5 separate regions of the Homo sapiens genome follow, and all the other regions are linked to region 1. The links are contacts of gene promoters, found by promoter capture Hi-C in blood cells and fetal thymus (Javierre and others, 2016). All regions are on one chromosome and are shown on one strand. Each heading gives the region's core, a stretch centred on a gene start or on the middle of the fragment in contact. The rest is flanking DNA. Distances are from core to core; before and after follow the strand shown.

The links. The method cuts DNA at HindIII sites, captures the fragments that hold promoters and counts their contacts. A CHiCAGO score of 5 or more calls a contact.
Region 2: a contact is called between a fragment that was not itself captured here and the fragment with the promoter of HLF in region 1, in 4 of 17 cell types (total CD4 T cells, fetal thymus, total CD8 T cells and 1 more). The highest score is 7.3, in total CD4 T cells.
Region 3: a fragment that was not itself captured here is called in contact with the fragment with the promoter of HLF in region 1 in 4 of 17 cell types (total CD4 T cells, non-activated CD4 T cells, fetal thymus and 1 more); the score reaches 7.4 in total CD4 T cells.
Region 4: a fragment that was not itself captured here is called in contact with the fragment with the promoter of HLF in region 1 in 1 of 17 cell types (erythroblasts); the score reaches 6.0 in erythroblasts.
Region 5: a fragment that was not itself captured here is called in contact with the fragment with the promoter of HLF in region 1 in 10 of 17 cell types (total CD4 T cells, non-activated CD4 T cells, megakaryocytes and 7 more); the score reaches 8.2 in total CD4 T cells.

The regions. Positions count from the first base shown.
Region 1 is chr17:55,263,668-55,266,437 of GRCh38, reverse strand. HLF (HLF transcription factor, PAR bZIP family member) reads right to left here and starts at 1,478. Exons shown (of 4, transcript NM_002126.5): 1 at 839-1,478. The coding sequence starts at 953. RefSeq lists a silencer at 1,355-1,674. The HindIII fragment of the contact is 7,530 bases long and covers 1-1,949 here.
Region 2 is chr17:55,027,245-55,029,944 of GRCh38, reverse strand. All of the region lies in intron 8 of STXBP4 (syntaxin binding protein 4), which reads right to left. Among named protein-coding and RNA genes, the nearest start is that of STXBP4, 60 kb to the right of the region's middle. The HindIII fragment of the contact is 1,180 bases long and covers 682-1,861 here.
Region 3 is chr17:55,010,163-55,012,899 of GRCh38, reverse strand. The region is part of intron 8 of STXBP4 (syntaxin binding protein 4); the gene reads right to left. Among named protein-coding and RNA genes, the nearest start is that of STXBP4, 43 kb to the right of the region's middle. The HindIII fragment of the contact is 985 bases long and covers 797-1,781 here.
Region 4 is chr17:55,512,441-55,515,140 of GRCh38, reverse strand. It overlaps a transcript of SMIM36 not described here. Among named protein-coding and RNA genes, the nearest start is that of SMIM36, 2.3 kb to the right of the region's middle. The HindIII fragment of the contact is 1,626 bases long and covers 637-2,262 here.
Region 5 is chr17:55,046,751-55,049,450 of GRCh38, reverse strand. STXBP4 (syntaxin binding protein 4) reads right to left here. Exons shown (of 18, transcript NM_178509.6): 12 at 2,297-2,362. Among named protein-coding and RNA genes, the nearest start is that of STXBP4, 79 kb to the right of the region's middle. The HindIII fragment of the contact is 551 bases long and covers 999-1,549 here.

The DNA of each region.
Region 1 (2,770 bases), core at 229-2,728:
GAAGGCATGAAATCGCATCAACCCAAATCCGTGGCATCACTTAGCCGGGTTTGGGGCCTCATCACACGTACCCCTCCTCTACTGCTAAGGCCAAGGTTGTCTTGGGAAGGTTTGGGACTTACCAAGAAAGGGCTCAAGCCAGAGGAGGCTCCTGCGCGGTTACACGTGAGCCTGCTCCGCTCTCCCCTCCCACCAGAAAAAGTGCACCGGGAAAGTGTCAACGCTGGAGGCGTGCACGGCTTCCCGCCGAGAGACCACTCCCCCCACCGGCCCCAGCCCCCACCCCGCTTTCTCAGCTACCCTTCACCAGAAGAAAACGAGTCTTCTCTCACACCTCGTGAGTTCCAAATACTAACCAGTAACAGAAGCTGTAACACAACCCCAAAACCCAGGCTACGCAGTGAAACCCCCTCCCTCAAGCCGACCCCCGCCCCCTGCCCCGCACAGAACCAGGCCCCAGGGTTTCTCCTCCCCAGCCCGGGAGGCTCTGCCCTCCGCAGGCGGGCTCGCTCTGCGTGCGGGTGTGCCTCGTTCTAGGGAACGATCCTGACCTGTCAAGTTACACCTCCCACCCGCGCCGCAGGAGCGGGACCCAGGGAGGCCGGGTGCCCGAAGCTCTTTTAAATGTAGCTCAGGAGGGGTCCCTCCCCTTTCATGGAGGAGGAGGAAGGGGAGGAAGGGTGCTGGGTGAGCTCCTCAATTTCATCAGCGCGGGGCCGGGGCGCCGCGGGACAGGGCGGGAGCGGGGTTGGGGGATGCTCCAGCGGGCGTGCCCGGCCGCGGAGGGGGACCCCCGGAGCGTCGTCCCTTCCCGGAGCGGGGCCGCGGCAGCGCTCACCGTCTTCGTGGTGAAGGGGGAGCTTCAGCGGGTTCTCCAGCAGGGACCTGAGCACGCCGTAGGGAGGCGGGATAAAGGTGGGATTCAGGGGGAGCGGTCGGGACATTTTCTCCATCGCGATGCACTCAAATTTTTTCCCCTTAAAAAAAGAAATAAGAAAGAAACAACCGCCCCCTAAAATGTTGCTGAGCTTTTCCTCCGTCCTTTGCCAAAAGTACTCGCTCTCAAGGCGGTGGAGAAAAGGGAAGAAAAAAATTACTTATATCTTTATAAATACATCTGCATAAAAATATATATTAAAAAAAAACTTTCGGGTTTCCAGTGCAGACGGTCCCAGGAGAGCGCGCCAAGTGCCCGCGGGCTCCCCGGCGACGTGCAGGATGCTCTCACCTGCCTCGAACCCCTCGTTTTGCAAAATGTTCAAAATTGAAAAAAAGAAAGAAAAAAAAATGTCGACGGCTGCAGAAGGGCAGAAGACACCGCGCCGACCCCAGCCCCTAGTGCCAGCACCGGAGGCGGTGCGCCGTCCCACCCCACCCCCCTCCCCGCGCCGGCGGCCGCTGCTCCCCAGCGCTCCGCGGCCCCGCAGCGCCGGGCTCAGCGCATCCGGCCGCCCATGTGCCGCGGCCCTGACAAGAGTGACGTCAGGGCCCGCACCTCGCGCCCATAGGCGTGCGGGGGCGGGGCCACGCGCGGCACCGCCCGCCTGGCCCGCTCGCCCCGCCGCCGCGTGTTTAGCGTCGCCGCTCGCGCCGATTTTCGGGGACCTTGCAGCACTGGCTGGTTGCAGGGGAGCAGGTGCCAGATTCCCTGGGCCATCAACTTAGGCTTAGATTTTTTTTTTTTTTTTTGGTCTGGGTGGGAAGAGGAATGAGAAATTTATATCCATAGTTTTCAAGCTGGGAATAACCTGAGGAGTTTTAAAAAAATCGCGATACCCAGGCCGCATCCCAGATCAATTAGATCAGAACCTCTGCGGTGCTATCAGGGCGTCCATAATTTTTAAAGCTCCCCAGGTGGTTCCAAAGAGTAGCCAAGTTTGAGATGATTGGTTTAGATCGGATGGAAGGTAACGACCCTTCTCAATATTTCTCCTGGCCCCGGCCAAGCTTAGCGTCTTCTTTCTTGCCCAGTTTCCACCACCACCAAAAAATAACTACTTCCTATAAGTCCGAATGGGATGCAAAAAGCAGAGCGGGAAGCGGAGGACTGAGCTGCTGGGCACTGTTTCCCACGCTGCAGAGAGGTGTTAACGGTGGGGGGAGAGGGGGGGTAGACATTTGCCTGAAACGGAAAGAGGCGGGAGAGACACAGACACACTGAACGGGATTTTAGGAATATTTACTCTGGGTGAATACAGGTGATTGCGCTTGGGTCAAGTTATTAGGTTTGCACGGTGATTAAAATAATTTTGTAAAGTATCCCCTAAGGGGGCTTCGGCTTTCCTTGCTGTTACAGCAGCTGCAGCGTCTCCCTCTGCCAGTTTGACCTCGTGGCACCCACGGTCCCCGAGATCTGCGTGCGACCCCCTGTGTGATAACTCCCTTCCCGCCTGGGGTGGTGCGGGCGCTGGCGTGCAGCCGCGACGCCCCCTGCAGAGCTCCGCGGGGGGCCAGGCAGGTTCTTCCCCTCCCTCCTTACCTCTCCTTACTAAGACCCTAGTCTTCGATCTGGGGAAGGGGCTGCAAGAACGAATGGGCACAAATGAAAGAAAACCGTTTTTCAGTGGGACGTAAAGGCCTTTGTGACCCCAGGCTGAGTCGCTGGGGAAGGATGTGGTGGTGTCTTGATGGGGTTTACTTCCCCAGGAGAGGGTTGTAAGAGAGGAGGCGCCTGAAACCCCAGAGATCAGGAGCGGCGGCGCAGCGGGGTTCAGAGTTCCCTGGCAGGGTGATTCCGGCAAGTGCCTTTCTGCCCTGAGCTGTAGGTTCT
Region 2 (2,700 bases), core at 22-2,521, 240 kb after region 1:
TTAGAATCTCGTTCAATCATTTAGTAATTCATTCATCAAATAATTTATTTGGTGCCTACTATTTGTCAGCCACTAAACTATGCATAGGTGATAGATAAATGAAATATAGTCTCTCACCCCAAAGAGTTTACGGTCTCAAGGGTGAGAACAACTGTAAAGAAATAAGTAAAACACATAATTTAATAGAAGTATGTATAGGGTATATTAATACACAAAGCAACTGGTTAATCTGTAAGTGAGCAATTTGGGAACAATGAAAGAAGAATGGAGAAAGAATATCAGGAAAGATTCTTTCAAAAATGATTCTTAAGCTTAGTCTAGCATCATCTGCTTATCTCGTATAGTAGTCAAGTATTTGCATTGTATAACATGGCATAATGATTTTTAGCTTCTGTATTTTTTTCTCTTCAGTTATAAAAATGTTTCAAATATAAACACAAAAAATAATAATACAAAGAACACCTATATACTCACTATCATCAATTACTCATTGATATGTACTTAAAATTTATGTATATATTTTCAATAAATAAAACTATATATTCGGTTAAAAGTTTTTATAAATTATTCCTCAGCAGGAACTACTATCCTAAGTATTCTTCCTGGTCTTAATTTAATGACATTTACTACATAAGCAAGTATCCCCTAATAATATGTACTCTTATTTTGTGCATTTAAGCTTTTACCTCAAAAGCATAATCTTAAAGAGTAACTCTACAAATTATTTTTATTTTTACCTCAATTTTATGATTTCATAATTGCTCAATATTGTCTGCAAAACTAGTTCACTTATTTTAACTGTGAACAGTAATCCGTTGTATGAATTTATTGTAATTTATTATCCATTCCCTGATTAACAGGCTTTTATAACTACTCCAATCTGCTTTTTTTTTTAAATTACAGAACATTATACATGTCTCTTTGTAAAAATGTGTGAAAATTTCTCTACATTATATCCCTAGAAAAGGAAGTGCTAAGCCATAGGGGACATATGGTCAATTTTATTAGATATTGTTGAATTGTTCTCCAAACTGGCTTCATTAATTTATGCACACCAGTAGTGAATAAGCATTTCTATTTTTCTACATTCTTTTTTTTCCTTTTTGAGATTTAACAGCATCTGCTGTTTCCACTCTTATTTTGTCAATGTTGTATTTGAAATAGTATGCTGTTTGTTAATTTGAATTCCCCTAATTACAAGTGCAATTAAACATCATTTACATGTTTATTAGCAATGTTTTTGACTCACAAATTATTTAAAATATGTTTTAAATTTTCATACATGAGGTTTTAAGAAGTATCTTTACTGATTTTGAATTTGGTCTCTATCTTCCAGCTGTGACAACCAAAAATGTCTCCAGACACTGCCAAATGTCCCAAGAAGAAAAACTGCAGCCCTGCCCTTGAGAACCACTGCTCTGAAGACAATTGCCATATTAACAATTGGTGTCTAATTTTTCAGGTTTTTTTCTATGAATATAGTACCTATAAATTTATATAAATTGTGGATTTTTTGCAAAAATTGTCACACTATAGTGTTAATAATTATCAATATATTACTCCTTTCTATTCTGTACATTTTACAAATATTGCATGCTTTTTAAAATTGTTATGTTTGTACACTGTCTGAAGTGAACTTTTTTTAAAGCATTCTCCTTCTGATAATCATTTAGATTATACACAATTTTTCACTATGGAACACAATGCTACAAAGTGCTAGTGCTCTTTGCTTTATGCCAATGACTTCAGCAGCTGTAAGAATTATCTGGATTTTTTAAAAAATTATAAAATATTAATACAGAAGTTATAGGACATACTATAATAAAGTAATAGATATCTACTATCTTGCTTCATTAAAGCTTAGCAGTCAACTATATTTACTTCAGTTTTTGAATGTAACCAAAACATATAAAAACCCCTTTTGAACTTATTCCCAGAGGTAAGACTTATCATATATTTGATTTACTATTCCCATGAATTTTTTATTATATAATATTTGGTATATACTAAAAGCATATATGTAAAAAAACATGAGTTTTAAAGTAGGACAATAAAACACCTATGAATCCACTTAAGCAGCATAAAACTGTGAATACTGTTGGATTCATATCACAATATGGATATGGTATTTCACCAGAGGTAACCATACTAATGAATTCTGAACTATTGATTTCTTCTTTATCATTCTTGATCTGTTTATTTTAAAATGGTTTTATCACATACATATGTATTCCTAACATGTTACTTTGTTTTACTGGTTTTTTAGCTTCATAAAAATGCTACAGATAGTTTTCTAAAACTTGCTTTTTTCACTCTACAGTAAGGCTTACTACATATTTCAAATCAGAAAGTGTGAGTTCAACTTTTTTCTTTTTTTATTTCAATAGCTTTTGGGATACAAGTAGTTTTTGATTACATAGATGAATTGTATTAATGGTGAAGTCTGAGATTTTAGTTTACCTGTTTACCCGAGTAGTGTTCACTGTACTCAATATGTAGTTTTTTATCCCTTGCCCCACACACCATCCCCCTTCTGAGTCTCCAAAGTCCATTATTTCACTTCCTTTGTGCTTGCCTTATGATACTCAAGGGACGTACTCTAGTATCTTGGGCGATAGGAAGGGCCATAGGGTTCCCACAAGTTTCTGTCCCTTGTGTTAAGCTACCAGAGTGGGTGGAGGGGCAAAGTCAGGGGGAGCT
Region 3 (2,737 bases), core at 40-2,539, 250 kb after region 1:
AATATAACTGTCAACAAATAATTTCTCAAACCTATGCCACTCGAGGGGACCTTCTAGAGGTTCCCTTGACTGATCCTGACCTCAACTTGTATACTGATGGAAGTTCCTTTGTAGAAAAAGGACCTCAAAAAGCGGGGTATGCAGTGGTCAGTGATAATGGAATATTTGAAAGTAATCCCCTCACTCCAGGAACTAGTGCTTAGCTGGCAGAACTAATAGCCCTCATTGGGGCACTAGAATTAGGAGAAGGAAAAGGGTAAATATATATACAGACTCTGAGTATGCTCACCTAGTCCTCCATGCCCATGAGGCAATATGCAGAGAAAGGGAATTCCTAACTTCCGAGGGAACACCTATCACACATCAGGAAGCCATTAGGAGATTATTACTGGCAGTACAGAAACCTAAAGAGGTGGAAGTCTTACACTGCTGGGGTCATCAGAAAGGAAAGAAAAGGGAAATAGAAGGGAACTGCCAAGCAGATATTGAAGCAAAAAGAGCTGCAAGGCAGGACCCTCCATTAGAAATGCTTATAGAAGGAACCCTACTATGGGGTAATGCCCTCCGGGAAACAAAGCCCCAGTACTCAGAAGAAGAAATAGAATGGGGAACCTCATGAGGACACAGTTTCCTCCCCTCAGGATGGCTAGCCACCGAAGAAGGAAAAATACTTTTGCCTGCAGCTAACCAATGGAAAGGTAACCAATGGTGCACTGTGAAGTGTGCCAAAGAAATAATCCCCTGCACTGCAGGCTATACATTTCAATCCCTGTATCTTTAACCTCCTTGTTAAGCTTGTCTCTTCCAGAATCGAAGCTGTAAAACCATAAATAGTTCTTCAAATGGAGCACCTGATGCAGTCCATGACTAAGATCTACCGCGGACCCCTGGACCGGCCTGCTAGCCCATGCTCTGATGTTAATGACATCGAAGGCACCCCTCCTGAGGAAATCTCAACTGCACAAACCCTACTACACCCCAGTTCAGCAGGAAGCAGTTAGAGCGGTCGTCGGCCAACCTCCTCAATGGCACTTGGGTTTTCCTGTTGAGAGGGGGGACTGAGAGACAGGACTAGCTGGATTTCCTAGGCCGACTAAGAATCCCTAAGCCTAGCTGGGAAGCTGACCACATTCACTTTTAAACACAGGGCTTGCAACTTATCTCACACCCGACGAATCAGGTAGTAAAGAGGGCTCACTAAAATGCTAATTAGGCAAAAACAGGAGGTAAAGAAATAGCCAATAATTTATTGCCTGAGAGTACAGCGGGAAGGACAATGATCGGGATATAAACTCATGCATTCGAGCCACCAATGGCTACCCTCTTTGGGTCCCCTCCCTTTGTTATGGGAGCTCTATTAAATCTTGCAACTGCAAAAAAAAAAAAAAAAAGAAAAAGAAAATAAACTCTTTGATCCCACAATACTTAAATTAACTGAAAATTTTTGAAAAATACAGAAATGACGAACTCAAAATTTCCCCTCTTTTGGGGAGAGGTACATATGATCAAGAAGAAATACATTAGCAATGTCAAAGGTTCTGATTCTTAAGTTGGGTGATGGGTAAATGTGTGTTTTATTATTCTTTAAACTGTATGTGTATAATACATACATTCTTGTACATGATTAATATTTTAATATAAAGAAATTTAAAAAAAATTAAAAAAAATAATGCAAATAAAGTGTCTATCACAGAAGGTGCTCAATATATGGTAATTCTTACATTAAGTAATAAAATTACACAATGCAATTAACTCAGTGTACTTTGATATAGAGCTAAGCTTAGTAATAAATGACAGTTTTGTTGAAAGTAAAATTCACACTAGAAGAATACCACATGTCATGTTAGGTAAGCTCTTAAATTTAAGTTGGAAGTAACATGTTTTATCAAAAAGTAGGTCTCATATGTAAGCAGAATATGTATGGGGAAAAAAGTAAAACAAAAAGTTGGTTCCAATAATTTATTAAATGACTAAGGTCATCTTTTAATCTGAAGCAAAAATAAAAGTTTGTTAATTAGACAAATAAATGTGCTGAAGTTTTTCTGATGTCTGAATGATGAATTTTAAAAATTACTTTGTTACAATATTAGTCACACACCTTTCAGCCTAATACAAAGAATATTTCATTAACTATAATGAGACATTGGGTATGCCATTGCTCTCTACAGTTTTCTTGAAACGTTACAGAAATGGCAAGAGGTAAAAGTAAATATCAGCGAAATGGCATCCATATCCCAAAGCATCTTCCATAGGTATAAATATACAGATAATGCAGAGGTACGATATTTTGATTTCAAGCCAAGCAATAAATTGTATCCCTATTTGCTAAGTTTATAATGCATATTTATAAGTTTAATATTAGGATCAAATGAGACATATACTATTCATACTTTGAAGAAATATATCACTACAAATAACTATGCTGAAATAACATTAAAATATCTGTATATTAAATCATTCTCAGAGTATTCACAGAAAGAGGCAAATGTAAATCCATTTTACAGACAAGGAATTAAGAAATAACTAGTTCAGTGTTATAAATTTCTCTACTTAAACCAATAAAATATAAAAGAATTCATGACAATGCCACATGTATATATACATATGTCTGAACATATATATGTTTGTATGTGTGTATATATATATATATGACATTGTCTTGACAGGTAATTTCCTTAATCAAATTCTAACCTCTCTGCTTTCCTTAAAAATTGTACTGGGTAGGCTAATTACTTAA
Region 4 (2,700 bases), core at 200-2,699, 250 kb before region 1:
TTCTATCTAGTCAATAGTTCCAGCGCAAAAAAAAAAAAAAAAAAAAAAAAAAAACACTAGACTAGAATTCAAAAACATTGCTTTAATGTCTTGCTTCTGTCATTTACTATCTGTTTGGACTCGAGAAAGTCACGTCCCTGTGCCTGAATGTCCTCAACTGTGAAATAATCAAACTCCCAATGCTTTTTTAAATAAGTTTATAACATTTTTACCTCTGAAGTTGACACTTCTCTAAGGCACTAAGACTTTTGGGATACCATATTTTATCAAGGAAGCAAGGCACTCTGAAATACCAGAGATAAATTTTCATCCAGAATAGTTGATATACAAAAATATGTTTGTTTTAAGTAATAAACTCTACTTACCTAAAAATGTATTTATATGGGACACATATTTATCTGGTATTATTAAGTAATATTCCAGGCCAGCCATCAAAATGAACTACACTGCAAGTAAATATGTAAACAACTGAAGACCCATAGAATACCTGCCCAATGGGTCTTGAATGCTCCATAGAATAAGTTATGCATGTACCTGTTTTATTCATATTTTATGCAGTAGAAAAGAGAGATGAGAGGGTGAGAGGGAAAAAGGGAATGAGAATAAGCTCATTCAATTCCACTGCCTCTTTAAGCTTCAATTTTCTCATTTTAAAAAATTGGGTTGATAATTCCTTTTTTCCTCTGAGCTCTACATTTGTTATACAGTGTGCTTTCAGTATCACATTATCAAGCTCTAAAGTGCTTAGTACCTTGCTAGCATATGGTAAGTGCACAATTCATATTTGTAATAAACGAAGGAATTAGTATGTCAAGGCTACCTCAAGGGGTTCTTCTGAAATGCAGCTTGTTATTGTTTTTACCTATGTCACCCTGTCATCCGTCCCAGTTTGCCTATTGCCAAGTTTTTTTCTTTATTTAGCAGCCCCTGCTTTGGCCACTAGATGGCACCAGAGGAAAGTTCCTTAAAGACAGCAAAAGAAGGAAAGATGGGTGAGGTTAGCCCCAGTATGAATAAAGGAGCCACCCAGGTTAATTAAGTAAAACAAGCACCCAGCATTTCACCGAAGACATTGCAAGGAAGTGAAGCCTTCATGAGACTGGACTTCAAATGAACTTTGAGCACTGGTGGAAACAGAAACAAAAAACTCTCTGCTAATAGAAATAAGATACTGGAACCAAAGACAATAGCCTTGAACAAAACATTCCGGGACACCACGGGTATCAGCAGAATGGGGGCAATCTAAGAAGACAGGCCAGACCAGATCACTCACCATGATTAATGATTATCACCATTACACAGAGAAACCTAGATCTGATATGAAAACTCCACTCAATAGAGCAGATCTGTTGCATATATTTCAGTTTAATTTAATGTGGACTAAACTATATGTAGTTCTCATTTCAGAGTCAATTTTAACCAATCCTTGTGTCATCTATTTAAAGTCACCAAATAACTCCCCTAAATATTGTTACATGGAGGCACCTGGGCTATCCAGACTCAGTTTACTATAGAAGTCACGAATCTAGAGTCCCGAGTGGGCAAAAGAAAGTAGGCATCTGGTACATAATGCTGCCTTTTAAAGCCTCGCTTCTGTCTGGTGCATTGCACGTGACTTACAGATGCAACAGACAACTCTACTTGCTGTGTGATTCTGTGCTTACCAGAAACTTTCCAATTATAAATGGACTTTTCCTGTAGATCTGCCTTCAGGAAGAAAAAGCTATGTCCTTGCAAGCACAAAATTAATTCTCTGAATCTGTCGGACTTAAAACCTTGGACAGTGTTGAATTCTGTGTTGAATGCCCCCTGGAATAGCTCTTCACAGATCACCAAAGCCCTGGTGACCGCATATTGGCCCATTTTCTTCACGTCCTTTTTTTCTACTTTTATAGCCATGATTCTCCATCCTGGTTGCAGATCAAAATTATCCATGAAGATTTTTATTAATACAGATCCCCAGACTCTAGTCCCAAAGATTCTAACTCAGTAGATCTAGGGTTGATCCAGGTATCTGTATTCAAAAGAGACCCAATAGATTCCAATAAGGCTGACCCTAAATCTATGGTGTTTCAGAATCATGCATCTTCTGGATTATAATTCCATAAGTTAGTCCAGGACCATAGAATCATGGACGATATTATTTGGAAAAACGTCTCCAGATGCATAAGAACCCCATACTACAACATCTTCAAATGCTCAGGTTCCCATGGAAGCTCAGTATAAAGGAGGCTGACAGGAAGACACTAGCCCATTGAAGCTTAACACTAAGAAACCAGCAGACCTTTGGGAACTTCAGCTTTTAACTAGGAGTATCCAAAAAGTCCTATTAGCTATTGGAGAAAAGGCTACTGATGCCCTAGCTGGCCAAAAATACATATATGAGACCAAGACCAGATACGTAATTTGTGGGTCCCAGTGCAAAGTTGAAAAGTTAAGAATTTCAAGATGGCAACAGCAGAGCATTAAACCAAGTGTGAGCTCTTTCTGAGAATGGAACGTTGTGCAGCTGCACAGGGCACATGCCCATGAAGTAGCCTATGCGGGACTATTGGGACCAGGCTACAACTGAGGCAGGACAGTGATTTGTACATCAAGGAATAACTGTAATCCGATCAGTATCTGATCTTCCTCTCAATTTGCTTGTTTTTCTGCATCCTTGAGGCAGCCTTTGGGAATCTCTTTAAAATGCAAATTCAG
Region 5 (2,700 bases), core at 25-2,524, 220 kb after region 1:
TTTTTTCTTTCTTATCCTCCCATTAAAAAATTTGCATCTTTTGACTTTTGTTAACACATGTAATGTTCATGCTATTTTTTTCATCCATGCACTGACTCATTTTAGTCTCACCTGTACAATAAAATATATGAAGTTCTCACCATTTGGGAACATTTTCCAAAGTTATTTTAGGCATTTTTTAGTTGGATAAAACTCATCCTATCTGAAGGTCTTCAGGAATATCATGTGTGAAATATTCCCTTAGTACTGGTATATCACAAACTGTTTTCTATGGCCTTGATATTTTAAAGTCAGGTTGGCTATATAAAACATTTTTGTATACTTTCTTTCTTTCCTTTCATGTCCTGAAAATGTTGTTCCACTATTGCCTTACTTTGCATGTTGTTTTGAGAAACCCAATGCTGGTCTAATTCTATTGCCTTCATAAGTTGCTTAATCTTTTTACTTGGAGGCAGTGTGCATTTATTTTCCTCTAAAGTCTAATAATTTTACTAGAATATATTGTACAGTAATCTTTCCAGGTCAGATTTCCCCAGTACCTATATTAGATTCAGGTCTTGTTTTAATTATAGAAAGTTTTCTTGGATTATAGTTCTAAGTATTAGGCTGTTCAGTTATTTTGATTGATTTCTTTAAGAAACTCTTTTACTTCTTGATTATATTTTCACTTTCCTAGTTGCTTTTCTTGTTTTCTTCATTGCCTTTTCACTTGATTATATTCTTCCTGGAGCAACTTGTAATTTAGTTTTCATTTCTGATAGGATTTTGTCTCTTCCTTCTTTCCTAAGTTTTATCAACTCTCATTTCACTTTTTCCTGATTTTTTTGGGGGTGATCAATATCTATTATTACTATTTTTTAAGTTTCTCATTTGAGATGTGTTTTTCATAGCCCAAATGCTTATTTGAGGAAATTCCCTTGAGTATGGAGTGTGACGTTACATTTTTCTTAAGTTTTGTGGTTAAATTGTTTTGGAAAGTTTTCATCAGGAGGAAAGCTTTCATTGATATCATCTGACTTTTTCAGTCGTTTTATAATGATGGAGATAGAATTTTTGTTCTATACTTTTTTATTTCACAGAAAAAGTTCTTAGTTCAAGAGCACTCTCTTCTGTGCAGTTTCTTCTATGGATCTTGTTTTGATGGTCATAGGGTAGGGTGGGTGGATTAATAAGTTGTGTTCTGCTTTCATTTCTATAAGCTCCTTAATTTTCCCTTCTTATTTCCTTCTTTCCTATCATTGCGAAGTCTCCAAGGAATTCTATCCATTCTCTATTGATCTGGTTCTTCCTCAGAAACAATGATTCTTCAAGGCTGCCATTTTTGATTGCATTCATACCTTGAAGTCTCTTTTTTTGTAGCTAGTGCTAAGAACCACCAAGTCTTGACATACGGCCAGTATTTTGGCATTTATGTTTACCTTTTCTCTTTCTGGGGGTGATTTTGTTTGTTCTTCATCTAATTCATAGTTTCTCTCTACTCTTTATTTCAGAATTTTTCAAGCCTTGCCTCCTCTGTTCTCTGTATTCCAGGTTTCAGTAAAGGCAAGCTTCAGAAGTTTTGTTGGAATTATTATTTTTCTTGTTGTATTTATATGTACTTTAAAGGCTGTGGTGTTTTTTTGTCACATAGTCATATTCAAAATATGGGTCCTGTATGGTTCTATCTGCTTTCTTTGTTGATTTTATGTTTTCTAGGGGGACTGTGTGAGGGAGATTCAAAATCAGGTGATCACTGTTGATCTCTAACAATGTTCTCTTATTTATATTTTGTCATTTGGGTTTTCATTTTATGATATTGTCATATATTTGTTTTATAGTGAGCTACCTCAAATTCTTTGAAGAATAATGCAAAGTGAAAATAAATATTTGCTTTTTATTATTAACAAATAAATGTAAAAAATGCTCTGCCTTGATGACTTTTTTGTTCTTTAGTAAAATGAAGTATGAGTAACAAAATAAAAAAGAAAAAGAAAAAAGGGGAAATGAAAGAAAAGAAAAAACAATGGAGAAGTAATGAGATTGGTTATTTTGGTCTATGGATATGTTTTTTTCAAAGAAATTTCAAAGAGGTTTTAACATTGTTTTGAGCAATAGTAGCAAGACTTTAGCATAGGTACAGCCTCCAAAAGTGATTGCTTTTAAGCTCTGTGCTATTTTGTATTATGTAATATGTATCAGGAAGCTCTGGGATATTGTAAAGAACCACTGCTTTATAATTATACCTCATATGTTCACACACACACACACACACACACACACACACACGAGCACATATATACACAATACATATACTTACTTGTTTCACATTCTGGAGCTCTTCTGTCAATTGTTTCCTTTGCTTATCTGATTCCAATAATTTTTCCTATATTTAAAAACCACCAAATTAACAACTTGTTATGAAAGTATTAACAAGTGTGACTTCTTAGTCCCTTGTTTCAAGGCCTATATTCCCAAATATCAAATTGCTACAATCTGAAAATATTGCTCCTAGTCATTTTTCTGGCTTTACATGAGGCACTTAAAAGTAATTAGTTATTTACAGTAAATTGTGATGTAAATATACTTTTTATTACCTTAATTTTGCAAAATCTCAAAATATAAGCTCTAACAGAAGCCAGTTAAGAATACAAATGTGTAAATATTAACACAATTTTGGTTAAGCTATCATTGCCAAAGAGATACCAAATTGAAGAGCATTAT